Linked DNA regions of Homo sapiens: regions 2, 3, 4, 5, 6 and 7 are each linked to region 1. Evidence: promoter capture Hi-C in 16 types of primary human blood cells and fetal thymus (Javierre and others, 2016). All regions are on one chromosome and are shown on one strand. Each heading gives the region's core, a stretch centred on a gene start or on the middle of the fragment in contact. The rest is flanking DNA. Distances are from core to core; before and after follow the strand shown. Region 1 holds the start of POLR1A (RNA polymerase I subunit A). Region 2 overlaps C2orf68 (chromosome 2 open reading frame 68). Region 3 overlaps USP39 (ubiquitin specific peptidase 39). Region 4 holds the start of CHMP3 (charged multivesicular body protein 3). Region 5 overlaps SFTPB (surfactant protein B). Region 6 holds the start of LOC105374842 (a long non-coding RNA gene). Region 7 overlaps GNLY (granulysin).

Region 1 (4,152 bases), core at 1,129-3,628:
CTCCAATTATCACGGATTAAACTGGATAACTCATGTCAATGAACGCTGAGAAGACAGTCTGTACACATGTTCAATATCATTAAGGAATGGATACAAGATATGGACAAGACTGTCAAAACTTTTTTTTTTTTTTTTTTAGAGACAGGGTCTTGCTCCATTGCCTAGCCTTTAGTGAAGTAGTGCAATTATAGCTCACTGAACCCTTGAACTCCTGGGCTCAAGTGACCCTCCTGCTTCAGCCTCCTGAGTAACTAGGACTACAGGCATATGCCACCATGCCCGGCTAGACAAAAGTTTTGGAAGCAAGCAATCTCATTACATAAATGGCAGAGAGGGAGGAAAGTTTTTAATAGCACTTGAACAATCTGGTTTGAAATGAAGAACTTTCAACTTCAGGAACCCAAAACACTATGATGTTTAAAAGAACAATTCAGTGAGCTCTTGCTTCTATACAGATACTGCCCTGATCAGAAAGGACTACCTCACTTAAAGCAATTACAACATAGGGAAGATGACCCATGGCTTCTCATTCCACTTCTTTCAACAATCAAGAATGTACCAAATACATAAGGCCTGATTTAGACTTGGAATTGCTGATATTTTCTATTTTCAGAGGTTCAATATGAAATCCTTTTTAAACCAAAATATAGAATCATTGGCCCATGACTGAGTTTTTAAGTGTTCTGTTTAAGTGTTCTGATCACACTAAAAACACAGTCAACACACCACAGATAATGTGACGGTTAGTATTATCTTGTGTTTCCCCTTACTAAATGGCATCAGTAACATTCAGAAAATTGTCAAGATGTGATTGCACAGACAGATACTTCCTCCAGTAGTATCTGGTTTCAGGTATCATTTAAAACAAGAATACCCCTCTACGTTAAGGACATTTCAGAAAGAGATCAACTCTTTCAAGTTTCTGAGATCAACTCTTTCAAGTCACACTATTTGTTTCTCATGACCTTAAAACAGAGATCACAGTTATTTTGAGAACGGATGCTGAGGAAGAGATTCTGCTTCAGGCAAAGAAAATGAGTAGAAAAATGCTAACGATGGCTACCAGGAAACGGAGGACTGGCATTGAATGGCAGCACAAAGGTTTCTGCAGTATCAGATGGAGTGGTTTCTCTTTCTTGAGGGGAACTAAGGGAGAGTACATATAAAAACATATTGTAAATTACATACCCCACTTATACCTCACAAACTTTTCGGATGGTTATTACCAACTCTAGTCTGCAGATGAGGAAATCTGTCTATTATCATCCAATTAAGTGAATGGCAAACACTAAACCTAAAATTAGGCTTTTAGCAAGTTTTCACTACAAATTACTGCCTCTCATATTCCCACAATGCCACTGTTTGTACTGAGTGAAAAAAAAATTACACAGATAGGTCATACATGTTCCAAGCTATAACTATCACAGATCAAAAGGGCATAGTCAGATCTTTTAGACTTTTCTGCTTTTACGAAAACCTGATAACTTCTTTAGCCAAAGTCCCCACGGTGGCGACCAGAGACTGCCTTTTATTTGGGAAGATCTTGTACGTTCTCCTCGCTCCTCCTGATTGGGTTAAAATGAGTAATGGCGGATAATTTTTAATTTGGGGTAGTGTTGCTAATAGCCACACTCACTGGAACGCAAGCTTCATGAGAGCAGGGTCCTAGCTTTGCGGATGGTGTTAACTACAGAATATTGCAAGCAACCAATAAGTATTTCTCTAATGAATAAATGCGTTGCGAATCCTATTTCAAAGGGCCACCTCCGCGTACCTGGTCTTAAGGGCACGCGACCGTTAAGGGCGCGCATGAGCAAACCATTTCATCGTGCCTACTTCCACAGCCAGCTGGGAAACATAGGACTAAGGTGACTCCGCGGTCTTCTTCGCGGATACCCTAAGCGTCTCTTACCTGCAGCTGCGTGCCTGTTCACACAAACCCGCCCGCCGACCCGTCAGCGGCTGGCCAAGCCTGCTGCGGAGGCCCAGCCAGCGAACAGCAGATACAACCGCCATCTTTGATTTCTCTGCAGAGCATGTTGGGAAAGCGTGCCTCGACCTTCAGGAAGGTGGGGCGCAGTGGGCGGGGAGCAGGGAACAGCTCCGCTATTGGCTGAAGCGGAAGAAGACGAAAGCAATCATAAAATGGGAGGTTGCAAGCTCATGGTTTGAAAGACTTCGTCACGGAAGCTAAAAGCTCTATACACCCGATTTGCCTCGGAGGAATTTTCCTAAATGATTATTTTGATGTCTTATATATCTTTGATTGTTTTCAAAACAAAAGAGCGAGCAGAGAGTCGTACAACTATTTGTTCCCCCCCCATGTAGAAGTGATCTCATCCACGTAAATGTCGTTCCTGCGACCGCTTCCGCGCGCAAGCGCACGTTGAATCGCGTGGTGACTCCGGGCTTGAGGTTGAATTAAGAATAGTCAGGTGGTGAGTGGAACGTCTCTTGGGGTGTCGGAATTCAAAACGGACCTGGAGGATGTTGATCTCCAAGAACATGCCCTGGCGGCGGCTGCAGGGCATTTCCTTCGGGATGTATTCGGCTGAAGAGCTCAAGTAAGGAGTTGGTCGGGTAGCGTGCCCAGCCTGGATCTTGAGGTCGGCGCCCTAAACTACGATTCCCAGAAGCGCTTTTGCCCAGTCTATCCTCTTGAGTCCAGGCTTGTCTGGCGCTTGTCCTGCTGGGAGCCGTAGTTCTGGGAACGTTCCTGGGCCGGCGTGGACTGCCTGGATAAGAGGCCGGTGGTGCTGGGGGAAAGAGTTTGCGCTGAGGTAGGGGAATATAAGGGTGGGGAGGGTCCTGGTCTGCAGCGTTATCATCTGCCAGTCTCCTCGTTAACTAACAAGCATTTGTGGAATTAACCATAGTGTACCTGACATGGTTAATTAGGCACGTAGTAAGTTTCCTCTTGTTTGTAAAATGATTGTCCTTCAAGTGTCAGTTCAGGCGTTAACTTCTCTTTGCTAGGACCCTGCTATATTCTCGGTCTGGTTGTTAAATCAAGGGAACTCTCTTTAGTCTTCATTTTGATCAAGGTAGCATTTGACATTCTCCAATGCACTCTCTTGAAACTTTCCTTTCTTCCAGAACCTTATTTGTCTTCAAGTTCTCCTATTTTTATGACAAATACTTCTACCTCCCTCTCTTCCTCTATCGATCTATAACCTCACAAACATTTATTGAGCATCCAGTTTTTTCCAGGCACCAAGCTAGGCGTTAATGACACATTGGTGAGCAAGGTCTGTACCTCATTTTACTCCTTAAATGTTGATGTTCTTCAAGATTCTATTCTAGTAATGTTTTCTTCATGGTAAATATTGTCCCTAGACAATCTCACCACTTTCATGATTTATAGTCTCAAATTTAAATCCCCAACGCAAATTTATTTCCCTGATTTTCAGACCCATTTGTTCAGCTGTCTGTACATCTTTAATTGAATTTCACACAGAGATCTTAAATGCATATCAAAAACTCAACATGGCCTAAATGCATATCAGAAACTCAACATGGCCGGGCACGGTGGCTCACGCCTGTAATCCCAGCACTTTGGGAGGCCGAGGCCGGCGGATCACGAGGTCGGGAGATCGAGACCATCCCTGGCCAACATGGTGAAACCCCGTCTCTACTAAAAATACAAAAATTAGCTGGGCGTGGTGGCGGGCACCTGTAGTCCCAGTTACTCGGGAGGCTGAGGCAGGAGAATCGCTTGAACCCAGGAGGCGGAGGTTGCAGTGAGCCGAGATTGTGCCACTGCACTCCAGCCTGGCGACAGAGCAATACTCTGTCTCAAAAAAAAAAAAAAAAAAACTCAACACGGCATCCCTCTTCAAAGGGAGGGGTTACTTACCCCTCCAAAATGGTGTACGTAGTGCAAAATAGTCACTAGAAACTGGAAAATTATTCTAGATCTCTCCTGACATATAACTTATTTATTGGGCTCTTACTTTGTGTCACCTACATGTCTATTTGTTCTTAGTCTCCTTTTTCTCCCAATTGCTACTGTGTTGCCTCTGGCCCTTATCTCATATTTGAATTGTCTTTTCCTTCCACCCTCCCCTTACACCTCTCAAGTGCATGCTCCACACTGCTGTCAAAATTATTCTTGCAAAGTGCAAATGTAGTCATGCTACTGTCACCCTTAAA
Region 2 (4,152 bases), core at 964-3,463, 500 kb after region 1:
CCAAAGGAATGCTGGGGCAGTAAGTGAGGTGGATAAGTGAGAAGGGCCTGGTGGTGAAAGCGGCCAGGGACCAGAATGCTCCAGACCTACAGAGCTGGTCAAGGTTAAGTGCCTTAAACTTACCAATCCTGGGCTCAGTTCTCCTTTGAAAGGAGAAAGTCTTTGTCCTCTACTTAGGCAGCTGGGCTAGAAGTGCCTTTTGACTTCTAATGTTAACTACCCTCCAAAGCCTCCTGGGTCAAGAAGGCTCTCCCAAACTCCACCCCTGTTCTTCCTGGTCAGAGAACCAGTCAGTCATTCTAGTCTTCTAGTCCTTAAACTGATCTGATGACTTGGAACATAGGATTTCACTGCAAGTCTGGCTTTTTAGTCTGGAAATACATTTGAGGTCTGTTTTCGCACAGCTGGATCACCTGTTTCCTGGTTTTATTACACAATTCAGAAGGCTAGAAGAGGAGTTTGGGGGCTTGGCACCTGAAAATTTAGACCGCATTCTTATTAAGTAAAGGAAGAGGTAGGGAGGCCGAGGCGGGCGGATCATGAAATCAGGAGATCCAGACCGTCCTGGCTAACACAGAAACCCCGTCTCTACTAAAAATACAAAAAATTAGCTGGGCATGGTGACATGTGCCTGTAGTCCATCCCAGCTACTCGGGAGGCCGAGGCAAGAGAATCACCTAAACCTGGAAGGCGGAGGTTGCAGTGAGCCGAGATCACACCACTGCACTTCAGGCTGGGCAGCAGAGCGAGACTCCATCTCAAAAAAAAAAAAAAAAGGAAGAGGTAAAAGGCAAGGCAGCATTTAATAAGTACCTGTTGTATCCTTTTAAGTGTTTGTTGTGGTAATCCTCACAAAGACCGGGACTGATGGAAACTCCTTGCTATTAAACTTTTTTTCTTGAGGAATTTTGCTTTTCAAGTGCATATACACTATTAATATTTTTTACCCAAGAGAGCATTCTAAGCTAATTTATGCAGTGTGACTGTATTAAGCATTAAGCTTCCTTCAGAGCTGGCCTATCGGAGATGCTACTGCCCTCTCTACAGATGTGTCTGAAATGCCTGCCCAAGGATGGCCCTTAGCCAGTTAACAGCTTTATAGCCCATCCTCATTGCTTACTGCCACCCCTCAGCTGGGGTCCAAGGCAGTACTATTCAGTTTATTCACCAGACCTGCCTCCAGACATCTACTTCTTTCAAAAATTAGTGTTTTCCATCAAGGAGCATGTTCCAGAGCATTTCCCAGAGATGTCCCAAAGAACACTGTCCGGTGCTGTGGCGTACAGTGGCAACAGCATTAGACTAAGTGGAACATCCCAGCAGGCTGCTTTAGAATCCGCTCATTTGACTAGATACGATGTAATTGGCTGTCTTTAAAAAACGCGCACACACACACAATCTGATAGGCATATCTCATGCCCATTCAATATGGAATGTTCTTCGCTTGCTGAATTTAAGCCTGTATTTTAAGGTTTTGTGGTTCCTCGGCCACAATGGGTGATGTCACTGATAGAACGAAGCTGAGTTTCCAAGGGTTTGGGGCTGTGCAAGAGTAAACACTAGAGCTTGAGTTGTTATCCAGCTGGCAAGCACGGAAGTCTTTGAAGAATGTAATGTAAAAAGGGAAAAGAATGTAAAGCTTTTTGTACCAAATGAGAGTTGGAGCCCAGCCAACAAATGCTTTTCCCTGTGTAAAAGTCTCTCTGGAAGGGACATTCCATCTCCATGGTGCACTCTGAGGGGCACTGTCAACTAGAGATTGGCCCCATCCAGGTGGGAGGAACCCCTTTGGGATGGTGAGTATCCAATCTGCTGTGCATTTGACAGGATCTCTGAATGGCTAGGTAATGGATCCCAAGCAGGCTCACAAATTTAAATGAGGGCTTTGTGTGCAGAAAGAGGAATAAGTACAGATTATTTTCCTACCACTAGATTTTTGGGGAGAGTCACCATGGAATGTTGACAATTACTTAAAATATTTTAAGCTCCCTTGCTGAATTCCTGTCCTGTCCCTGAGGAATCAGATGGTCATACAGCCATAGGCACCCACCCGAAATTTCCCTAGGAGTTGGAGTAATGCTAGAATTGAAGACCTTCTGAGTAAAGGGCTTCTCTGCCTTCTCAGAGGCAGGAGAATTTGCACTGGTTGTGTTAAATGTATAAAAAGCTATATGTTCACCAGTTTACTCATTTCCAATGTGTAGATGAATAAAATGTAGTGTACAAATTATTTGAAAATCCCAGAAGGAAGGTACTTTTCAAATACAGTATTTTTTTTAACAAATAAACTTACGATTTTTACAGCACTGTTTTTGCCAAGAGTTGTGAAATAACTTGTGTACTTGGGGAAGTGGAGGTTAAATACCTGCCCTAAAGTCATTCCACCACCGAGTCAGCACTGGAAATCTCATCTCTTGCTTTGCCACACTATTTTAAGAGCTGTCCCTGTTGGAACATAACAACTAGACAGACTCATGTAGCATTAGAGTTGGAAGGTCTTTTTAAAGACATCTGGTCCTACTTCTTACATGATACACAATTCCCCCTACCAACTACCTATGAAGAGCCCTTCTGTCATACGGAGCTCCATCCTGGGATAATTCTATTTTAGGAACTATTAGATTGTCATACTAAGCCAAAAGCTGCCTCATGTCCCGGATCTGGACTACTATGCCTTGCCCCCACATCATGTTAGAACTTGAGTAGTCCTCTCAGGCCTTCATCTTGATTGGATAGGGACTCAAACCCAGCTCAAGAAGATATAGTGTTAAGAATTGCAAAGCTTCCAATTAGGGTTCACAGCCCCATTGGGCAGATAAGGTGCCTACGCAGTGGGAATGCAGTTGGGCAGGAAGATGGTTCCTGTCAATTAGCAAGGAAGCACACCCTTGTCCTGAGGCACAAAGCATAGCCAGCGGCAGGTGAGCTGGATTTTATCCCCCACTGGTTTATTCAGCCAGGTGTGCTTGTACAGTGATCACTACACAGCCATACTTCTTGGCCCTGTTTTAACTACTTGTCCTAATGTGTTTAAGGACAGGGCTCTCCCGCTGGGCACGGTGGTTCACATCTGTAATCCCAGCACTTTGAGAGGCCAAGGCGAGCGGATCACCTGAGGTCAGGAGTTCAAGAGCAGCCTGACCAACATGGTGAAACCCCGTCTCTACTAAAAATATAAAAAAATTAGCTGGGCATGGTGGCAGGCACCTGTAATCCCAGCTACTCGGGAGGCTGAGGCACAAGAATCACTTGAACACAGGAGGCAGAGGTAACAGTGAGCCGAGATTGCACCATTGCATTCCAGCCTGGGCAACAAGTGAAACTCTGTCTCAAAAGAAAAAGGGCTCTCCAACAGGTTTTCTGCTTCCATTTCTGCTTTCCACTGGGTCCAAGAAGGTTTCTCCCTCTTCAAGTCATTGTGCAGTTTATTCTGCTCTACTTCTCTAAAGCACAGGACCCTGTTGTTTCACATAGCCTTTGCCTCACCAGTGTTGCCAAACTTCAGCTCCCCACGCTGGGCAACCTGCGCCTGTGCACCATTCAGGTGATGATCTGTCATCTCACAAGGGCTCCAACAGATGCTGGGACCGCCTTTGAGACAGAATGCCAGGCACACTTCTGATATGTGAAAGTATTTCCACCCTTGCAATAATTTAAGAAACATCCGGGCCAGGCGCAGTGGCCCACGCCTGTAATCCCAGCACTTTGGGAGGCCGAGGCGGGCGGATCACGAGGTCAGGAGATCGAGACCATCCTGGCTAACATGGTGAAACCCCGTCTCTACTAAAAATACAAAAAAATTAGCCGGGTGAGGTGGCGGGCGCCTGTAGTTCCCAGCTACTCGGGAGGCTGAGGCAGGAGAATGGCGTGAACCCGTGAGGCGGAGCTTACAGTGAGCCGAGATCGCGCCACTGCACTCCAGCCTGGGCGACAGAGCGAGACTCCGTCTCAAAAAAAAAAAAAAGAAAAAGAAAAAGTAAAAAAAAAAGAAACATCCAGGAATGCACTCATAGCCTGTAAGTTTTTGGTGAAGCTGGTCAGTAATTTTTCCCACACTATCCTGTTTCCTTTTCCCAGATTCCTCCGGGTCTCTCACCTTCCCCTCTTTGCTTACCAACACTGGCCATGTTAATCCTTACCTACTCTACACTG
Region 3 (4,152 bases), core at 1-2,500, 470 kb after region 1:
TTTTCTGAGTTGGAAGGAAGCAAACTAAAAGCATCTAGTACAACTCTAGTGTGCAAAAAGGTGTGATGGCCAGCAAATAGATGGGCAGACCCTCACTACTCAGGACATCTTCCAAACCAGGCAGAATCCTACCTGTCTTATCCTACTTGCATCATTTCTTCTTCTCTACGCAGGAAGACTATAATTTCCAGCTAGCAACAGGAGAGAAGATAAAATAGGGATTGCATCCCAATAAACATCAATCTTTTGTGGTCCCTGAAATAAGTGTATCCTTCCAATAAAAACTCTTATCTACTGTAGGTAGGCTCTGTTCCTTGTAATCCCCAACTAAGACAGTCCAAAATTAATACTGGTAAAAATACAAGAGAAGAAATCCAGGTTCACTCCCCGTGAGAGAAGTGAGGCAGGATGTTACTTACGTAATAGGGAAATTGACAATAGTTGGATTCTTCTCAACAAAGAAGTTGTTCTTAGTGAATCTCTTGATACAAAAGATTAGATATGGAGGCAACTTGGTAAGCTGGAAGCGCTTCAGAAAGTTCTCCTTGTAAGTCTTATATTCCTAGAGAAAGAAAAGAAAATTCTCAAATTAGTGCTGAAGTTCAGTAGTATTAGAGCAGGGGCATGAGTTTTTCATTTCGATTTTTTAAAATATAATTTTGCCTCACACTTAAGTTCACAAGACTCCTGGTCCGAGAAATTATGTATGAGGCTTAGGATGTGCAGTTTGGCTAAGGCTGATTTAAAAAAAAAAAAAAAAAAAAAGGCCGGGCCTGGTGGCTCACACCTATAATCCTATCACTGTAGGAGGCCGAGGCAGGGGGATCATTTCAGCACAGGAGTTCGAGACCAGCCTTGACAACATGGTGAAACCCCATCTCTACTAAAAAGGAAAAAGAAAAAAAAAGAAAAAAAAAATATATATATATATATGTAAAGAAAGAAAACTAACCAGGCACGGTGGCTCATGCCTGTAATCCCAACACTTTGAGAGGCTGAGGCAGGCAGATCACTTGAGGCCAGGAGATCGAGACCAGCCTGGCCAACAGGGTGAAACCGCATCTCTACTAAAAATACAAACATTAGCTGGGCATGGTGGCATGTACCTGTAGTCCCAGCTACTCGGGAGGCTGAGGCAGAAGAATCGCTTGAACCCGGGAGGTGGAGGTTGCAGTGAGCTGAGATCACACCACTGCACTCCAGCCTAGGCAACAGAGTGAGACTCCATCTCAAAAAAAAAAAAAAAGTATGTCTCCCCACTTTTTGGAGTTTCTCCTCTCCTAAATGACCTTCCTTTCTCTATACTACCCCAGAGGCAGGCAGAAAGCTGAAAACAGGATATATGAGAAGTACAAGAGGGGGCACTGTGGTTGGGCAGTGGTTCACATCTGTAATCCCAACACTTTGGGAGGTCGAGGTGGGAGGATCCCTTGAGGCCAGGAGTTAAAGAATGGCCTGGGCAACAAAGTGAGCACTCTCTCTACAAAAATACTTAGTTGGATGTGGTGGAGTGTGTCTAGTCCCAGCTACTTAGGATGCTGAGGTGAGAGGATCACTTGAGCCCAGGAGTTTGAGGCTGCAGTGAGCCATGATCACGCCACCATGATCACCCAGACTAGGTGATAAAGCTAGACCCTGTCTCAAAAAATAATAAAAAGGGGCACTATAAGTTAAGAGTTGGGGGTGACCAGTGAGAAATACCAACGAGTCTGGGAGGCTCAATAAAGTCAATATAATTTATAATAAATACGTCACATACATGTGGTGATTCTTACATATAAAATGAAAATGGGCCAGGTGTGGTGGCCCACGCCTGTAATCCCAGCACTTTGGGAGGCGAGGCAGGCTGATCACTTGAGGTCAAGAGTTCGAGACCAACCTGGCCAACATGCTGTCTCTACTAAAAATATAAAAAATTAGCCAGTCATGGTGGCGGATGTCTGTAATCCCAGCTACTAGGAAGGCTGAGGCAGGAGAATCGCTTGAAACTGGGAGGTAGAGATTGCAGTCAGCCGAAATCACGCCACTGCACTCCAGCCTGGGCGACAAGAGCAAAACTCTGTCTTGAAAAAAAAAAAAAAAAGAAAATGAAAAAGTCGAGAGAGCGAGGGTAAGTATAGGCAGGGCAGGTGTGTTAATGGGCTACCTTCTCAGTGATGCCATTGAACTTAGCCAGGATGTTGAAGAGTGGCACTTGGGGAATGATGAGCTGCTCCTTCTCGTCCTTGTAGAGGGGGGCAGTAGGAAGGTCCAGCGTCAGGTACATAAAAGTGGACTCCACCATTGTCTCCTGGTACTCGTCATTATGGAGCAACTGCTCTTTTTCTTCTGCTGGCTAGAAATGAATGAGAAGAAAAGAGAGGAAAGGAGTGTGACGGGTATAGGAACCAACACAGAACCGATGTTTTACCACGCCGACATTTCCTTCATCTGAAAGAACAAAGAGAAGTGCCCGAGAGATTGGGCAGTTTGGCATGCACCACCTGGTTAGATTAACTTAAGAACCAACAGGTTTCCTTCTTTAAAGATATTTTGCTTATATACCAGACTATCTAAAAAGCCCTGAGGCCAAGTGTGATGGCTCACGGCTGTAATCTCAACACTTTGGGAACAAAGGTGAGAGGACTGCTTGAGTCCAGGACTTCCAGACCAGCCTGGGCAACACAGTGAGACTCCATCTCTACAAAAAAAAAAAAAAATTGGCCGGGCATGATGGCTCACACCTGTAATCCCAGCACTTTGGGAGGCCGAGGCAGGTAGATCACCTGAGGTCAGGAGTCCAAGACCAACGTGACCAACACGGAGAAACCCCGTCTCTACTAAAAATACAAAATAAGCCGGGCGTGGTGGTGGCGCCTGTAATCCTAGCTACTCGGGAGGCTGAGGCAGGAGAATCACCTGAACTCGGGAGGCGGAGGTTGCGGTGAGCCGAGATAGTGCCATTGCACTCCAGCCTGGGCAACAAGAGTGAAACTCCGTCTCAATAAAATAAATAAATTAATTAATTAATTAAATTAAACAAAAATAAAAATAAAAATTAGCCCGGTGTGGTGGTGTGTATCTATGGTCCCAGTTTCTGGGGAGGTTGAGGTGGGAGGATCACTTCAGCAAGGGAGGTTGAGGTTGCAGTGAACCATAATCACGCCACCACACTCAGCCTGAGTGACAGAGATCTTGTCTCAAAAAGGAAAAAAAATCCATTAAAAAAAGAAAGTGGGCCGAGCACGGTGGCTCATGTCTGTAATCCCAGCACTTTGGGAGGCCAAGGGAGGTGGATCACCTAAGGTCAGGAGTTTGAGACCATCCTGACCAACATGGTAAAACCTCTTCTCTACTAAAAATAGAAAAATTAGCCAGGCATAGTGGCGCATGCCTGTAATCCCAGCTACTTCGGAGGCTGAGGCAGGAGAATGGTTTGAACCTGGGAGGTGGAGGTTGCAGTGAGCTGAGATCATGCCATTGCACTCCAGACTGGTCAACAAGAGCAAAACTCCATCTCAAAAAAGAAAAGCTCTAAGACCATCTAGGAAGCTTAGCTGAGGGCCAGGCACGGTGACTCACGCCTGTAATCCCAGCACTTTGGGAGGCCGAGGCAGGTAGATCACCTGAGGTCAGGAGTTCGAGACCAGCCTGGACCAACATGGTGAAGCCCCGTCACAACTAAAAATACAAAATTAGCTGGGCGTGGTGGCAAGCGCCTGTAATCACAGCCACTCAGGAGGCTAAGGCAGGAGAATCGCTTGAACCCAGGAGGTAGAGGTTGCAGTGAGCTGAGATGGCGCCACTGCAACTCCAGCCTTGGCGACAGAGGGAGACTAAGAAAAACAAAAAGAAAGCTTAGCTGAGCTTTCTGAAAAAACACAGCAGCACCACCTAGTGGCCAGAACACTTAAACCAGCACAGTACATCCAACCACTAACTCCCAAACTGAAAAAGTGCACTAGTATGACAGGGACCAGGCAGAGCTGCCACTAGGCAGGTGCTTTGTTGAACCTCTTCACAGGGCAAGCAGGCTTGTCAGTTCTCTGAGCATCTCTTCATCTCCCCTACGTCCCCTCAAGCAATATGAATCAGTCCAAGACCCAGGCTCAATTAACTCACCAGATCAGGATGGGGAAGCTTTTTAGTGAAGATCCTCATGGACCCCTGGAA
Region 4 (4,152 bases), core at 629-3,128, 460 kb before region 1:
GCTGGGAGAGGTGGCTCAATGTATATAATATAATCTCAACTAAGTAAAAATAGGCCCGGGCAAGGTGGCTAACACCTGTAATCCCAACACTTTGAGAGGCTGAGGTGGGAGGATCGCTTGAGCCCAGGAGTTTGAGACCCGCCTGGGCAACATGGCTAACCCTTGTCTCTACAGAAAAATTAAAAACACAGTGGGCGTGGTGGCTGACACCCAGCTACTCAGGAGGCTAAGGTGGGAGGATCACTTGAATCTGGGAGGTAGAGGCTGCAGTGAGGCAAGATCCTGCCACTGCACTCCAGCCTGGGTGACAAAGTGATACCCGGTCTCAAAAACAAATACATAAATAAAAATAAAAGTATATTTTCCAAAGGAAAAGGTTTCAGAAGATTCACACTATATTTAATAGTTGGTGTGAATCCTTTGAGACCTTTTCCCCTGAGGAAGTGAGAATGAGGGTTTAACTTTTCACAATGAACAGGCAGTGCTTTTTTAAAAACAACTTTATTGAAGTATGATTGGACATAAAATAAATCGCACATACTTAGTGTCCAACCTGGTAAGTTTTGATATTGTATACATCTGTGAAACCATCATCACAATCAAGATATTATCCATCATCCCCCTAAACTTCGTGTCTCTTTGTAATCCCTCTTTTCTGCCTCTTTCTGACCCCACTCCTATCCGCTAGCAACCGCCCATGTACTCTCTGTCACTATGTATTAGTTTGCATTTTCCAGAATGTTATGTAAATGGAATCATACGGTTCTGGCTTCTTTCACTTGGCAGAATTATTTTGAGATTCATCCATGCTGTTGCATTTATCAATAGTTTACTTTTTTATTGCTCAGTACTATTCCTTCGTATGGATCAATCACGACTGGTTTATCCATTCACTTGTTGATAGACATTTGGATTGTTTCCAGTTTATGGCTATTACAAATAGAGCTGCTATGAACATTTGTGTACAAGTCTTTGTAAGAACATATGCTTTTTTCCCTCTTGGGTAAATAGCTAGGAATGGAAGGCTGGCTTTGTTTAGCATTTTAAGAAATTGTCAAAATGTTTTCAAAGCTGCCGAACCATTTTATGATTCCACCAGAGACAGGAGTATGGGGCTGAGGTAACAAATGGTCCCCTTCACCATCCTCGGATGAGTTAATGACAGTAACCATCAGCTCACCGTATAGGCCTAATCAGGAACTGTCCGTGCTAAAATGTGTCTAGTTCTCTTTAGTCAGATTCCTTTGAGAGTGTGATTAAGCTCACGGTCAGTGTGGCGTGTAGGACGGGACACACATGGACAAATGCTAGGCAGGAATCGCCCACGCTGGAAAGGGCGATGGCCTGAAAAAAAACGACCGCAGTTGGGATGGAAAGGGGAGGGTTGAAGTTCAGACATATTGAAGTTAGAATGGTTGGGACTTGGTAAGAGGGGAGAGAGGACGATGCCTAGGGTTTAGTGACCAGGTGATGGTGGTGCAAGCAGAGGGGAGGAGTGGGTTGGCGGGAGGAAAAAGAGGTTATTTTTGGTTTGTCACCTGTGAGTTGCCTACTGGACACAAAGATGAAGCTGTCGGGAAAGTGATGCTAAGTGTACACGTCTGCGTGGAGATCCAGACTTCTGGTGCAACATCTAGGTTTAGGTGAAGTATTAGAAGCAGTTGTAGCCAACAAATTCGTATCTTTCAGAGCAATCATTTCTACACCTTACGAAAAGCACCGAATCCGTGGTCTCCCCCACACAGACATGACCAGAACATGTGCGATGACGTCAGCCTTTTTGACTAGTCTCCCACTCACTCGATTCTGCGCAGGCGTATGGCGCATGCGCAACATCCCCTAGTGCCGCCGCTCCCTACTCTGGGGGTTGGGACTACCTCCTTTTCCGCGGGCCCCGCCCAGGCGGCTGCCCGTGACCTGCCTGGGCGCGGGGAACTGAAAGCCGGAAGGGGCAAGACGGGTTCAGTTCGTCATGGGGCTGTTTGGAAAGACCCAGGAGAAGCCGCCCAAAGAACTGGTAAGGGCTACGGCGGCGGCAGATAAGCGGGTGGATCTGTGTGGGGCGTAGTGAAGTTGGTAAATGACAGGACACTCTTCTCCCCACCGCCTGCCCGATACCGCCCGGCCCCCATTTCCGGGGACTCCCACTCGACAGGGGGGCCGGAGGAAGAGTCTTTAGGAGTCGGCTGTGGGACGCGAGAGCTCCTGGTGCCATGGCTCTCGAACAGGTAGCCGAGGGTGGATGAAGAGTTTCTCCACCTCGCCACTGAGCGCGTAGGCAGCGACACCGTCCTGGCCTCGGAAACCTCTTCCCCCTGCGCGCGTTGGTACGACCCGCCCGGAACCTTTTCCCAGCGTAGGCCCCACCCCTCCAGCCCGGCTGCGGACCACCCGGAGAACCTTCTCCTGCCCGAAGCGTTGTTTGGAGCGGGCCGGGTCGCGTCTGCCGGAGGAGCCGTCTGTTCTCCGTCCTCCCTGTTGTGTTGAAAAAGAGGCTCAGTTTCCTCTTTCCCCAGCCCTTGTGTTGACCCTAGGCACATACCGTAGCGGGGCAGGGACTCGACCCAGAAGAATGTTACAGAAGATAGCTCTGGACCCGGCTTCGAACTCTCGTTACCTATTAATTGAGATAATATTGGGAGGCAAACAGTTGAAAATGCCCTGCAGTCAGTCAACCTAAGTTTGAATCCTGCCTTCCCACATCTCAGCTCTGTGATCTCTGGAAAGTTCACTTCTCAGTGCCTTCTCGACTGTGAAGCCAGAATAATAGTAGTGTCACCTCAGAGTAATTGAAGATTCAGGGATGTAAAGTTTTCATATTGGTAGTTAGGGCTAATTCTTTAAATACGGCACAGCTTTGCTACTCAAATGCCAACCAGCAGCATCAACATCACCTGGGAGCTTGTTAAATCTCGGACACCACTCCAGACCCACTGAGTCAGATTTTGAATTCTGACAAGCTCCCTAATGATTAGTGTGCACATCAGTGCTTTGAGAAGCACTGCTCTGCAACACCTAGGCTTGTCCATAATGGAAAAAAAAAATCCTGAAATCCTTTAATAAATGATCTTACCTGTTCAGCTCTAGCAGGCACATTTTAAAAACTAATCTTATGCATCTTGCAATTCCTGGCACATAATGTGCGTTAATGTAAATTTGTTGTTGTTGTTGTTAAAGGCCCTAGAACAGTAGACACTCATTATTTTCGTCAGGAAACTTACTCAGTTTTGCTCCTTGGTAAAATAAAAATTGTGGCGCTTAAATGAAATAACGGTATAACATCACTTTGGAAACTATAGAACATTATATAGATGCACATTTTGTGACATCTGTATATTCTAAGATTCTTGTTATTGTAGAAGTGTGGTAGGGAGAGATTATTTGTTGTCTTCAGTGTTTGGCCTTGGCATTGCCATTCGTAAATTGAGATAAGATTATGGAGAAGCAAAAAAGATGCTGGGGAAATGGTTGCTTTATTGTTTAAACTAGTCTCTAGTATATGTACTACTATACTACTCTAGTATATTGTACACTTAGATTGTTTTTAAATGATAAATTGCTAAGAACACGATATTGGTACACTCTTCAGTAGGGTAATCTACCTGAGAAAGCTGATTGACACTGGAAAATGGCAGGGTTGATGCATGAGATTGGTTTTTAAAACTATGCTTGCCAGAGCCGAACAGGTAAGATCATTTATTGAATAAAAAATTTTAGTTGTTTTTCCCCCCATTATGGACAAGTCTGGGTATTGTAGAGCAGTGCTTCTCAAGCATTAGTGTGCACACTAATCATTAGGGATCTTGTCAGAATTCAAAATCTGATTCAGTAGGTCTTGGATAGGGTCTGAGATTTCTAATAAGCTCCCAGGTGATGTTGATGCTGCTGGTCTACACTTGAGTAGCAAGATTGTAGAGTGAATTAAGATTAGCCCTAACTACCACCACCTTTAGCTAACATATTGAACCAGGCATTGTGTTAAGCACTCTGCAATGTTATGAGGTAGGAACTGTTATTGTCTCCACTTTACAGGTGGCAACTGAGGCATACAGTATTTAGGTAATTTGCCCAAGGTCATACAGTTTGTGAATTACAGCACCAGAGGTTATGTATTCTAAGGCCTATACTTAGAATTATCATGCCATTTATACT
Region 5 (4,152 bases), core at 424-2,923, 450 kb after region 1:
CAGACGTCCATAGCTCCTCTCCCTCACAAGCGCTCCCAGCCTGCCCTCCAGCTGCTGCTCTCCCCTCCCAGTCTCTACTCACTGGGATGAGGTTAGGTCATGAGGACACCAAAAACCTAAAAATAAACAAAAAGCCAAACAAGCCTTAGCTTTTCTTAAAGACTGAAATGCCTGGAAGTGTCCCTTTATTTATAAAATAACTTTTGTCATATTTCTTATACATGTTTCTTGTAAGAAATTCAGAAACTACAGACAAAGAGAGTGGAAATTACCCACTGTCAGGCCTCTGAGCCCAAGCTAAGCCATCATATCCCCTGTGCCCTGCACGTATACACCCAGATGGCCTGAAGCAACTGAAGATCCACAAAAGAAGTGAAAATAGCCAGTTCCTGCCTTAACTGATGACATTCCACCATTGTGATTTGTTCCTGCCCCACCCTAACTGATCAATTGACCTTGTGACAATACACCTTCCCCACCCTTGAGAAGGTGCTTTGTAATATTCTCCCCACCCACCCCACGCCCGCACCCCCGCACCCTTAAGAAGGTATTTTGTAATATTCTCTCCGCCATTGAGAATGTGCTTTGTAAGATCCACCCCCTGCCCACAAAAAATTGCTCCTAACTCCACCGCCTATCCCAAACCTACAAGAACTAATGATAATCCCACCACCCTTTGCTGACTCTTTTTGGACTCAGCCCACCTGCACCCAGGTGATTAAAAAGCTTTATTGTTCACACAAAGCCTGTTTGGTAGTCTCTTCACAGGGAAGCATGTGACACCCACAATCCCACCTAGCCCAGGAGAGAGCTACGGCAGGGTGTGTGTTTTGACACTGAGCTTGGGGCTTTTTCCATCTTCTCCCCACAGCCTCTGGCTCCACACCTCCACCGTTCAAGCGCCAGAAAGAGCTGTCTATGCAGCCTGCTCTTGGGCCTGGGGATGAGACACACAATTCATTGGCTCCTGGATTTTAAGTAGACATTTGTAAATCTATAGCTAACTACTGTCCTTAAAGCCATTGTTTCCATTACAAAATCCAACTCTCTGAGAGAAAAGGGTGTTTTAAATTTAAAAAAATAAAAACAAAAAAGTTTGATTGAGACAATGAAGAGCCAATGTTTGAAGAACTGGAGGCATTAATAGTTTATCCCAAAAATATGAGTGGGAATGAGTGCCTGATAATGAAAAAGGCGGCTTCATTCAAAAGGAGGTCAAGAATTGGCAGACTTTGGGAGGCTGAGGTGAGTGAATCACTTGAGCCCAGGAGTTCAAGACCAGACTGGGCAACGTGGCAAAACACCATCTCTATAAAAAATATAAAAATTTGGCTGGGCATGGTGGCTCACACCTGTAATCCTAGCACTTTTGGAGGCTGAGGTGGGTGGATCACTTGAGGTTAGGAGTTCCAGACCAGCCTAACATGGTGAAACCACATATCTACTAAAAAAAATACAAAATTAGCTGGATGTGGTAGTGCATGCCTGTTATCCCAGCTACTTGGAAGGCTGAGACAGGAGAATTGCTTGAACCCAGGAGGCAGAGGCTGCAGTGAGCCAGGATTGCGCCACTGCACTCCAGCCTGGGCAACAAGAGCAAAACTCTGTCTAAAAGAAAAAAAAAAAAGATACAAACATTAGCTGGCCATGGTGGTGTGTGTCTGTGGTCCCAGCTATTCAGGAGGCTGAGGTGGGAGGATCGCCTGAATCCAGGTCAAGGCTGCAGTGAGCCGTGATGATGCCACTGCACTCCACCCTGGGTGACACAGAGAGATCCTATTTCAAAAACAAATAAATAAATAATTTTAAAAAAGAGTTGACTAGCTGGTAGGAGGACAGAATTGGCAGGAAGTGGCTACACTTGAGACTCCTAGGGTCCCTGAGAAGTGTCCAACATCCTGCACCTCTGCCCTTAGGAAGTTGGGGGAAGAGAAGTCCCAGGAGGGATTATAGCCCAAGAGGAGGGGACTTATTCTTCACTTTCCAGGGTGTGGGCTTCTAAGAGAAGCCTGCCTCTCACAGGACATCAGAAAGGGTGAGGACGCTAGCCTGAGGGATGGAGCTAGGCAGCTGGCCTGAGGTCTGCCTCACAGAGTGTTCCCAGTGTGATGTGGTTGCAGAAGAGCAACCTCAACCCACAGACCGAGAGGCAGTCAGAATTGGCTCTGGACAAGATGGTGCACCCGTAAGAGCCCACGGTTGGGGATGAATCTGTGACAGATTTAGTGGATCTTGAGATGAGCAGAAATCAGATGTGTAGCAGTGATGGCACAAGAAGATGATGATCAGGCAAGACGAGAGACACTCCAGAGAGACCTGGATGGCCAGGGAATGCTTAGTCCCCAGTGCCTCTCCTCACCGCAGGGCAATCTGTAAATCATTCCCAGGGAAAGGGGAAAGAGGATTCAGTGGTTAGTCAGCCAAGAGAGGCTGAGTATTAAGAAGGGAATGAGTTACTCCGAAATGGAAATAATATGTTTTGAGGGCTCATGAGCCAAAATGAGTTCAGTTATAGAGAAATAAAGATAATTACATTATGTCCCCCTAATGAATAACTGAAATTTTAAATCCACGACATAATCATTATTAACATGTTATTATCTATAATTCCAAAGCTTTCTGTGCACATATACAAAAACAGATACAGCAGATCTACAAAATGGAAACATCCTATACATGCTGCTTTGTAACCTGCACTGTTCATTTAACAATAACCTTTTCAGGTCAATAAATGTAAGTATCTACTATTATTGCTAATTGCCACATGACAGCTCTGTCTCCCAGGCTAGAGTGCAGTGGTGCGATCACTCTGGGGTTTAAGCAATCCTCCTGCCTCTGCCTCCCTAAGTGCTGGGACTACAGGCGTCAGATACCATGGCTGGCCCTTACTTTTTTTTTTTTTTTTTTTTGAGACAAGAGTCTCACTCTGTCATCCAGGCTGGATTGCAGTGGCGTGATCTCAGCTCACTGCAAGCTCCGCATCCCAGGTTCATGCCATTCTCCTGCCTCAGCCTCCTGAGTAGCTGGGACTACAGGAGCCCGCCACCACGCCCAGCTAATTTTTTTTTTTTTTTTTTTTTGTATTTTTACTAGACACGGGGTTTCACTGTGTTAGCCAAGATGGTCTTGATCTCCTGAACTCGTGATCCACCCGCCTCAGCCTCCCAAAGTGCTGGGATTACAGGCGTGAGCCACCGCGCACGGCCGGCCCTTTCTTTTTTAAGCAACTATTATCAACGATTTGCAAAAAATAAAAATCCTCGCACTTACATCTTTGTTTGTCTGTCTTCTTAGAATCAATTCCAAGACATGAAATTTGGGGGACACCTTTACTTTTAACAGAGGCTGGATTATCAATCTGGGCCTCTGTGCCAGCCGTACCAACTTCTATCCCAAAAGAAAACAAGTGCCTCTTTCCACTCTCACCAAACTGGGGTATTAACAATCTTTCAAACTTTGCTAATCCAAAAATATATATATATATTTATATATACAGGCTGGAGGGCAGTGGCACAATCTCGGCTCACTGCAGCCTCTGCCTCCCAGGTTCAAGCAATTCTCTTGCCTCAGCCTCCGGAGTAGCTGAGATTACAGGAACGTGCTACCATGCCTGGCTAATTTTTGCATTTTTAGTAGAGACGGGGTTTCACCATGTTGTCCAGGCTGGCCTCAAACTCCTGACCTCAGATGATCCACCAGTCTTGGCCTCCCAAAGTGCTGGGATTACAGGTGTGAGCCACTGCATCTGGCCTATCCAAAATATTTGTTTTGTTTTGTTTTGGTTTGGTTTGGTTCCTTTTTTTTTTTTCTGCTAATCCAAAATATTTTTAAATGATGTCTCATGGTCGTTCTAATTTGCATTTCTTTAGTTACCAAATAAACACCTTTTCACATGTTTATTGGCCATTTATATTTCATCTTTTGTGAAATGCCTACTTGGGTTTTTTGCCCAATTTTCTGTTTAGGTTTCTTTTTCTTATTGTTTTACGAGTAAAAATAAACTAGGTATATTCATTTATTTACTGTCCTATACATTGCAAATTTTTCTCTATCATATATCTGGAGTATTTTTTCCACATCTATCTTTTTCTCGTGATTTCTGGCTGTGGGGTCATGCTAAGAAAACATGAATTGAATTTCACTTCTTCCCCA
Region 6 (4,152 bases), core at 624-3,123, 430 kb after region 1:
TGCTTCCCCCTCAGGACTGTTGATCCACACCAGCCCCTCATCCTCACAACCAAAACAGGACAAAATCTACACCAGCGAGAATTGTTTTCTAACAGCTTCTTGTTTGCTAGTATATTTGACTGGGAAAGGAAGGTTTTTTTTTTTCCTTTGGCTTAATTTTTTTTTCAAAGTACAAAGACAATGAGTAATGACCACATGTAATTATACCAAGAAATACCATTATCAACAAGGTGATACACATCCTGCCAGTATTTCTCCAGTGTTTCGTATTGTTGTGTTTTTTTCTTTTTCATTATTAACCTAAGTTTCCTGAGGCATACCAACCTGTGTGTAAATTCTGAGTGGTGACATTTACCCTTATTTTACTGTCTCTTACCCTGTGGGCCATTGCAGTACTTTACATCCCCAACAAATTGCCCTTCAATTATGTCTGCAACTTATTCACCAAATCAGCCAGTTGTACAGTGGCAGTGCCTGGCACCACCATCTGGATAGGCACCAGCCTGTTTCCCAGGATAATTGGTCCCCAGGGTGCTGTTCTCTCTGCAGTGCCACCAGGGCCTGCTGGATGTGGCCATCTCTGCCAGGGATGCAGAGCTGGGCTGTGTCCCCTAGCACCCTGGAGGCCCCAAGGCAGCCAGGGTCTATCCTGAAATGAGAATGTCTCCCCTCCACTCTGGTTTCCCAGTTTGTTAGGCCATTTGAACCTACATGTCCTGGAGCTTTTAGCTGAAGCATCTCCTTCAGCATTTACTTGCAGACATCCTGTCACTGGGACTTGGACAAGAGCCCCTGGGGGCTGGGCTGGGGCAGACCTCCCTGTCAATTTTCAGAACTGCCCTACTCCCTGCCCAGCCAGAACACTGGGACTCTGCTACAAGTGGAGCTCCAGCCTGGTTGGAGTCTCTCTCAGCAGTTGCTCTGATAGCCTTTAGGATGGTGCCCCCAACCAGTCTGCAAAGCCTCCAGACCTCAGACTGCAGCCCTCGGTCATGTTCATTGATTCAGCAAACACCAAGTGAATGCTACTCTGTGCCAGGTACTCCGCCAGGCACTGAGAACAGGAAGATGAGTAAACATGAACATGGGGCCTGCCCTCATGGAACTTACTTTCTAGTGGGAGAGAAGACAATGATCAAATTACAAATAAGTGGACCCAGCGTGGTGAGTTACACCTGTAATCCCAGCACTTTGGGAAGCCGAGGCCAGATGATCACTTGAGGTCAAGAGTTCGAGACCAGCCTGGCCAACATGGTGAAACCCCACTTCTACTAAAAATGCAAAAATTAGTCAGGTGTGGTGGTGGGCACCTATAATCCCAGCTACCTGGGAGGCTGAGGCAGGAGAATCGCTTGAACTTGGGAGGCAGAGGTTGCAGTGAGCTGAGATTGTGCTACTGTACTCCAGCCTGGGTGACAAAGCGAGACTCCATCTCAAAAATATATATATATACACAAATAAGTGTAAACAGTAAGAAAGAACAGCTTGTCCGTGCATGGTGGCTCACGCCTGTAATCCTAGCACTTTGGGAGGCCGAGGCAGGCGGATCACCTGAGGTCAGGAGTTCGAGACCAGCCTGGCCAACATGGTGAAACCCTGTCTCTACTAAAAATACAAAACTTAGCCGGGTGTGGTGGCACATGCCTGTAATCCCAGCTACTCGGGAGGCTGAGGCAGGAGAATCGCTTGAACCCAGGAGGCAGAGGTTGCAGTGAGCCGAGATCGTGCCATTGCACTCCAGCCTGGCCTATAGAGCGAGATTCCGTCAAAAAAAAAAAAAAGAAAAGAAAAGAAAAATGAGGGAAGGGGAGGGGAGGGGAGGTTAAAATGTTGTAAAGCCCAGGTACTCGGTGCTGCCGCCTGTAATGAAGGAGCGCCTTCCTCAGCAGGTGCGTGGGCCCTGGGGTGTCGAGAGACTGGACCCCCTGGTGTTCCTTTAGTTCAGCAGAAACAGCTGCCCCAAGAAAGTTGGGCTGCAGCGAAGTCCGCGAAGGGCAAGGTGTGGGGATCGCGCTGCCCAGGGCGGTGCATCTCCACCTGGCTCCCGGGCGCCACCTTCCGGTCCTGCTTTGGAATTGCACTCCCTGGCCGCCCTGTGTTTGCGAGTGAGGGTTGGGAAGGCTGGGTGGCGTCCTGCCAGGTTGCTTCCTGAGCAGAAGTTAAGCCTGTTCCTTCCCAACTGGAACATTTAACAGCCAGGGAGAGACCCCAGAATTCTCTTTTCTCCTGGCATGATGATGGGCAGTGTTCAAGACGACCACTGCAAGTCAGCCTGTGCCCCGGGGTGACTGTGATGAGCAGAGTCCCTGGCCACACATAATGGGCCTGAGCCTGGGCATGGGACGTAGCTTTGTGGCCCTGAGCCACTACACTTAGGGGTTTCATGGTAATTTCCTGGAGACAGAGGCTCCTAGTGGCTGAAGGAATGTCTTTGTTGTGTTTTCTCATACAGGTGGCTTGGTGAGAGCAGGGCTGCGCTGCCCCTTCTGTCACCCCCACCCTGTGCCTGGAACAGCACTTGGGCACAGAGCCAGGACCCATCAGATTCAGCGACCTGACCCCATCTTCCTGGGAAAACACTTGTTCGTTCCTGCAGGAATGGCAGCTGGTGCCCTTCCAGTCAGAATCAGCTTCTCTTTTCCTGTTGAAGCCACCATCACTGCTCCCTTGTCCTAAGGCAGCTCAACTAAGGAGGTGCCCACTCGGCCTTCCCTGCTCCAGCCTCAAGATGCCTTCCTCAGGCTCCACATTTTCCCTCCATACTTTGCACCTGTTCAGGGCACAGCCCTCATCATGCCCCTCAGGACTCCACTTGAGGCCTCTTACTTCAGGGAGAGACCAAGAAGAGGGGCCTGAAGCACTTCCTGCAGAAAGGAGACCCAGCCCCTGCCAGAGGCCTGTGTGGCTTCTTATCTCCTTAGACCGGAGCAGTTGGAGGCTGGGTCAGAAAGGCAGAAAGGAACAGAAACCAACAATGGGCAGGAATGTCCTCCAGCTACAACCTATAGGCGCAGCTACAGCCAACAGGTGCAATTTTAGGGACATTTAAAAGGGTCATAATTCCATAAACAAAATGCGGTGTATGCACACAGCCTTTAAAAGGAAGGAAATTATAAGAGATGCATGATAACATGGATGAACCCAAAAGACACTCTGCTAAGTGAAATAAACCAGTCACCAAAGACAAATACTATATGAGTCCACTTCTAGGAGGGACACAGAACAGTGAAAATCATAGAGACAGGAAGTAGAATGATTATCAGGGGATGGGGGAAAGGAGAGTTAGAGAGGAGAAGTAGAATGATTGTCAGGGGATGGGGGAAAAGAGAGTTAGAGATGGGAAGTAGAATGATTGTCAGGGGATGGGAGGAAAGGAGAGTTAGTGTTTCATGGGCACAGAGTTTCTGCTTGGGAAGGTGAAAAGCATTCTGGAGATGGATGGTGGTGATGGTTGCGCATCAATGTGAATGTACATAAAGCCACTGAATGTACACTTGGAAACGGTTAGAATGTAAATTTTTTTTTTTTTTTTTTTTTTTAGATGGAGTTTCACTGTCTGTCGGCCAGGCTGGAGTGCAGTGGCGCAATCTCGGCTCACCACAACCTCCACCTCCCAGGTTCAAGCAATTCTCATGCCTCAGCCTCCCAAGTAGTTGGGATTACAGGCACCCGCTAGCATGCCCAGCTAATTTTGGTATTTTTAGTAGAGACGGGGTTTCACCATGTTGGCCAGGCTGGTCTAGAACTCCTGACCTCAGGTGATCCACCCGTCTCGGCCTCCCAAAGTGCTGGGATTACAGGCGTGAGCCACCACTCCTGGCCTAGGATGCAAATTTTAGGTTATGTGTATTTTACCACAAATGAAAAAAGAAAAAGATTCACAATTCCAGTCAGGAGAAAGGCACTGTCTTCTATACTGCTCAGAGGAGATGTCAGCATGACATCTTGGGAGACCTATTGTCAGTGTGCATTAAAATTTAAATATGCTAGGCCGGGCGCGGTGGCTCACGCCTGTAATCGCAGCACTTTGGGAGGCCTAGGCGGGAGGATCACCTGAGGCCAGGAGTTTGAGACCAGCCTGGCCAACATTGTGAAACCCCGTCTCTACTAAAAATACAAAAATTAGCTGGAAATGCTGGCAGGTGCCTGTAA
Region 7 (4,152 bases), core at 625-3,124, 410 kb after region 1:
AATAAACACTTTTAAAAAATCAAGTTAGTATATGATATACTCACTATACCAAATATGTTAGTAGGATATACTTTGCAACTATGTCTACATTTATTAACTGTAATTGTATTGTAAGGTAGCACGTTTCCTTTTCCCTTGTTTATTTATTCATGTATTATTTGTATTTGTATGAATTCATGGATTCTGCTTTATTCAATGGATTACGATCTGTTCTTGTCATCATCTATTCTGAGGCTCAAATAGCCCCAGATTTGGCCATCGGTAGTCCCCTTGAACAGCTTCTTTGATTGAACCCAGAATAACACACCATACTCCTTGGGTGGCCAGCATCCATTTTTCCCTCTTCCCACCAACAGTAGCCCAGATTTTCATGTTTATTGTCAACCAAGTGATTGGGTTGAGATGGACCCCACCTCAGCTCCAGGGGTGTGCCCTGCTTAGCTTAAGCCAATCAGTGTACCCCATTATTCTCCAGGACACAGTGATTGGTCTGAGGGTGGGCAAATGACCTGTGAGAACTGGCCAATGAGAACTGAGGAGATAGCTGATAGGCCTTCTGGGAAAGAAGCTTCCTATTTCTTTCCAAGGGAGCTCTCTCTCCCTCTGATGGAGGCACTGTAAAGAGGTGAAGTGTGGACCTGATGAAGCCATTTCTGCTGCCAAGAGAGAAGCGAACCTGAAGACAATTTCAATATACAGAGGTCGGGAGAACGAAAAATTGCAATAAAACAGGACTGGGGCTCTGCTGACGCCACACATTTCTGGATCATTCTGTGCCTGAACATACCCGTGGACTGGTTAATTATTTGAACCAGTAAATTATCTTTTTTGATTAGGCCAGAATGGGCTGAGACTTCTGTTGCTTGCAACCAAAAGGGCCCTAAAAGATACACTCCCCCGAAACCGCAAAGGAAGGCTGCCTGTCGCAAGAAGCAAGAGGATGGGTTTCTGTTCCTTTTCACCAAAAACAAAACAAAAACACCTCTAACCCTGCTGGTCTATCCCACTGGTCTGAGAGCTTCTGGGGACATCGCCACTGTGTGCCTTGGCCTTTCTGAATAACGCATGGCTGTGGTGAGTGCTCAGTAAGCATTTCACGACTAACTGTGTGAATGCTGTTAAGGTTGTCTCGTTCACCACTAAATCCATAACATCTACAACAGTGTATGGGACACACGACAGACATTTATTGAAGGACTACACAGCTCACCCCAGCATGCCACTGACACCCACCCCTCAAATCCACCAAAGAAGAAGCAGCTGCGGCTAAAATCTTGCTTGACACTTTATTCTCGTGAGAGGGGAGGACAGCAGAGGGAGTCAGGGGAGGGAGACTGGAGAGTGGATTCTGGATCGAGGAAGCGAGGAGCCGGCAGAGGTTGCTGAGGTTCCCGGGATCTGAGGACAGGAGCCTGTGCTTCTTCCACAGGACAAGGTGAGAGGGCTCAGAGGGGACCTGGAGAGGAGAGAACAGCCAGCTGTGGGCAGATGTGGTGGGTCCTCAAGGAGAAGCAGGCACTCAGAATGTTACTTGCTTAAGGTCCCAGAGCCACCTGACCCTACTGAACACACCCAGAGGCACATCCTGGAAGCCAGTCGGCAGCCTGAGCAGGTTGTGGGGCCTTGAATAGAAAAGCCACAAGCTCCAATGACAGGAAATGGTGGGGACCCCCGATCTGCCAGCATAAAATCCCAGAGCATTGGCAAGTGCCAGCTGAGCTGCCAGAGCCAATCACCGAGGCCCCTTTCTGGCCCCATTTCCTACAGCCGAGATCTGTTCTCTCCAGGCACAGCCTGGGCAGCCATGGAGGGAAAGGCCTCATGCTCCCCTGCCTGAAGGGTTCCCTAGCCCAGATCTCAGGGCCCAGGATTGTGGGGGAGGATATGGCCCCAGCTCCCGACCCCAGGGGCCTGTGCTGGGCTGGGATTGGAGTTTGACTGAGGGTCTGATGACCTTGAATAGCCTCAGTCTGAGGACATTTCCCCAGGGTCAGGTCCACACACACGGTGACCTCCTTCAATTCTCATTCCAATCTCAAAAATCAGGATTGCTATCTCCCCTTCACAGATGAAGAAACTGAAGCTCAGAGAGGTCAAGTTATTTGCTTAAGGTCACACAGCCAGGGAGAGATGGAGACCAGATTTTACTCCACGACCACCTGTGTCTGAAGCCCAAGCTCTAATCAGTATTTCTCAAACATTTCTAGCTAAAGTCCATCTGCTCAATTCTCCACACTTTCCCAAGCTGGGAGATGGGGGAGTAAGGAGGCAGCTTTGATATATCCTGGGGGAAGCTGTCTCCAACCCTCAGGAGGTATCCCTGCTGTCACCTCTGCACTCACCTGTAGAAGGTATACACAACCTGAGGTCCTCACAGATCTGCTGGGCAGTTTCTCCGGCCACGAGGCCCTGGGTAACTCTAGACTGATACCTCCTCATGAAATTTCTGCAGACGTCGCGCCATCGTGACCTCCCCGTCCTACACACCCGGGTCGCAGCATTGGAAACACTTCTCTGCAGCAGCAGCACCACAGTGGACATGGTTATAGGGTGAGTCCTGCCCAGCTCTGCCACCCTGCAGGTTCCAGCAGCCCTAGCAATGGGAGTACTGGGTGCGAGGAGCTGGCACCTGGTGCCCATGGGGCCAGAGACTGTACAGACGGGGCTCAGCCCCTACTCCCAGTCCCCAAGGCCTGGCCCAAGACTGGCCAGGTAGGGCTCCTGAGACAAGGACAGTTAGCCCTGCTGGGGTCTCAGCGCCTTGTGCACCTGTCCCCTGCCTTCTGTGTGGAGAATGGTGCCCATGGCTGCCAGGCACACATTAAATGCTCTGCCATGTAGCTACCTGGGTCCAGGACCTGGCTGGGGGCTCCAGATAGAGGGGGTGCATAGAGAAGACTGGTGGGGTGGGAGGTGTGGTCAGAGCTTGGAGTCTTGGCTCATTTGGTTTTAAAGTCTCTTCTATGCCATCCCAGGGGAGGAGGATGAATCTGGGTATCCAGGGCTAAGTGCGAGCCTGCAGTGCCAGGATGCTGAGTAGTTTGGGGCAGCAGAGGAGAGGGAAGGAGGGAGAGTGAAACAATAATTCTTGGTAGTAACACAGTCATTCGTTAAGCATTTACTCAGTGCTGGACGTGGAGCTAAGTACATCCCAGCCCTCAGCTCTTTTAAAAAGCTTCAGCAGCCAGGTGCAGTGGCTCATGCCTGTAATCCCACACTTTGGGAGGCCAAGGCAGGTGGATTGCTTCAGCTCAGAAGTTGGAGACCAGCCTGGGCAACACAGTGAGACCCTGTTTCTACAAAAGTACAAAAATTAGCTGGGCATGGTGGCGCACACCTGGAGCCCCAGGTACTCAGGAGGCTTAGACAGGAGAATTGCTTGGGCCAGGGAGGCAGAGGTTGCAGTGAGCCAAGATCACACCAGTGCACTCCAGCCTGGGTCTCAGAGTAAGATCCTATCTCAAGGAAAAAAAAAAAAAAAGGGTTTGACAACTTGCAAGATAGGGACTATTATCCATCACATTTCAAAGATAAGATAACAGAGGCTCAGAAAGTGGAAGTGACTTGCCCAAGGCCATGCAGCTTGGAAGTAGCAGATCTGGGATTTATCAGTCCTGACCCAGGCCTCTTGGGGAACTAGCTTCTCAAACTCTGCCTTGGACACAAATGTTAGGGCTTTAGGGGAAGATTCCTAACTTCTCTGGGACAAGCCCTCTTTGAGGATACATGATGAAAACCATGTATACTCTGCCGTCTGACTTACACAGTTCCAGAGAGTCACAATTTCACAAGTTCTCTGAAATTCATCCACAGACACACGGGGACTCACAGATTCCCTTCTAGGAAGCCCTCCCCCAGGATCACTGTGCAAGGTGCCCCCGGGCTCCCCGATCCCCGACCTGGTCACAGGCTGGCCCCTCCATTGAGCAGCAGACAGGAGGCTCTGTAGCCCCTTGGCCTCACCTGGGTGGGCTTATCCACCATCTTCTTCAGTTTTTGGACTATCGTCAGACAGGTCCTGTAGTCACGGCCCAGCTCCTGTGTTTTGGTCAACAGGTCACCCTGTCAGGAAAGAAAGCCCTTATGATGGTCTCTCAGACACTCTGGGAGCGCGTGAAAGTGCCCAGGAAAGGGGCCCTTTGTGTTTCTGAG

What was found. Contacts are between HindIII fragments. The CHiCAGO score rates a contact against its expected background, and 5 or more counts as called.
Region 2: a fragment that was not itself captured here is called in contact with the fragment with the promoter of POLR1A in region 1 in 1 of 17 cell types (erythroblasts); the score reaches 7.1 in erythroblasts.
Region 3: a contact is called between a fragment that was not itself captured here and the fragment with the promoter of POLR1A in region 1, in 3 of 17 cell types (erythroblasts, megakaryocytes and M1 macrophages). The highest score is 8.7, in erythroblasts.
Region 4: a contact is called between the fragment with the promoter of CHMP3 here and the fragment with the promoter of POLR1A in region 1, in 1 of 17 cell types (non-activated CD4 T cells). The highest score is 5.4, in non-activated CD4 T cells.
Region 5: a contact is called between a fragment that was not itself captured here and the fragment with the promoter of POLR1A in region 1, in 5 of 17 cell types (erythroblasts, M0 macrophages, megakaryocytes and 2 more). The highest score is 9.4, in erythroblasts.
Region 6: a contact is called between a fragment that was not itself captured here and the fragment with the promoter of POLR1A in region 1, in 3 of 17 cell types (neutrophils, M0 macrophages and M1 macrophages). The highest score is 7.8, in neutrophils.
Region 7: a fragment that was not itself captured here is called in contact with the fragment with the promoter of POLR1A in region 1 in 3 of 17 cell types (neutrophils, total B cells and monocytes); the score reaches 9.2 in neutrophils.

The regions. Positions count from the first base shown.
Region 1 is chr2:86,104,112-86,108,263 of GRCh38, reverse strand. It overlaps POLR1A (RNA polymerase I subunit A), which reads left to right and starts at 2,378. Exons shown (of 34, transcript NM_015425.6): 1 at 2,378-2,564. The coding sequence starts at 2,488. PTCD3 (pentatricopeptide repeat domain 3) reads right to left here and starts at 2,029. Exons shown (of 24, transcript NM_017952.6): 1 at 1,913-2,029. The coding sequence starts at 2,016. RefSeq lists enhancers at 1,719-1,978, 2,359-2,568, 2,769-2,858. The HindIII fragment of the contact is 4,349 bases long and covers 1,650-4,152 here.
Region 2 is chr2:85,603,408-85,607,559 of GRCh38, reverse strand. C2orf68 (chromosome 2 open reading frame 68) reads left to right here. Exons shown (of 4, transcript NM_001013649.4): 4 at 1-2,306. It also overlaps a transcript of USP39 not described here. Among named protein-coding and RNA genes, the nearest start is that of TMEM150A, 2.8 kb to the right of the region's middle. The HindIII fragment of the contact is 1,143 bases long and covers 1,642-2,784 here.
Region 3 is chr2:85,637,386-85,641,537 of GRCh38, reverse strand. It overlaps USP39 (ubiquitin specific peptidase 39), which reads right to left. Exons shown (of 13, transcript NM_006590.4): 8 at 4,102-4,152; 9 at 2,147-2,335; 10 at 420-562. Among named protein-coding and RNA genes, the nearest start is that of USP39, 23 kb to the right of the region's middle. The HindIII fragment of the contact is 4,567 bases long and covers 1-3,533 here.
Region 4 is chr2:86,561,169-86,565,320 of GRCh38, reverse strand. It overlaps CHMP3 (charged multivesicular body protein 3), which reads left to right and starts at 1,878. Exons shown (of 6, transcript NM_016079.4): 1 at 1,878-2,017. The coding sequence starts at 1,973. All of the region lies in intron 3 of RNF103-CHMP3 (RNF103-CHMP3 readthrough), which reads left to right. CHMP3-AS1 (CHMP3 and RNF103 antisense RNA 1) reads right to left here and starts at 3,251. Exons shown (of 6, transcript NR_183901.1): 1 at 3,074-3,251; 2 at 2,401-2,475; 3 at 1,922-2,053; 4 at 1,539-1,633; 5 at 1,181-1,344. RefSeq lists enhancers at 1,503-1,562, 1,721-2,015, 2,173-2,272, 2,283-2,452. The HindIII fragment of the contact is 23,374 bases long and covers 1-4,152 here.
Region 5 is chr2:85,654,271-85,658,422 of GRCh38, reverse strand. SFTPB (surfactant protein B) reads left to right here. Exons shown (of 11, transcript NM_000542.5): 11 at 1-1,109. Among named protein-coding and RNA genes, the nearest start is that of SFTPB, 12 kb to the left of the region's middle. The HindIII fragment of the contact is 1,889 bases long and covers 729-2,617 here.
Region 6 is chr2:85,677,276-85,681,427 of GRCh38, reverse strand. It overlaps LOC105374842 (a long non-coding RNA gene), which reads right to left and starts at 80. Exons shown (of 3, transcript XR_940317.3): 1 at 1-80. The HindIII fragment of the contact is 5,932 bases long and covers 1-4,152 here.
Region 7 is chr2:85,695,868-85,700,019 of GRCh38, reverse strand. It overlaps GNLY (granulysin), which reads right to left. Exons shown (of 5, transcript NM_006433.5): 3 at 3,964-4,062; 4 at 2,343-2,514; 5 at 1,168-1,456. The coding sequence ends at 1,446. Among named protein-coding and RNA genes, the nearest start is that of GNLY, 3.6 kb to the right of the region's middle. The HindIII fragment of the contact is 2,607 bases long and covers 571-3,177 here.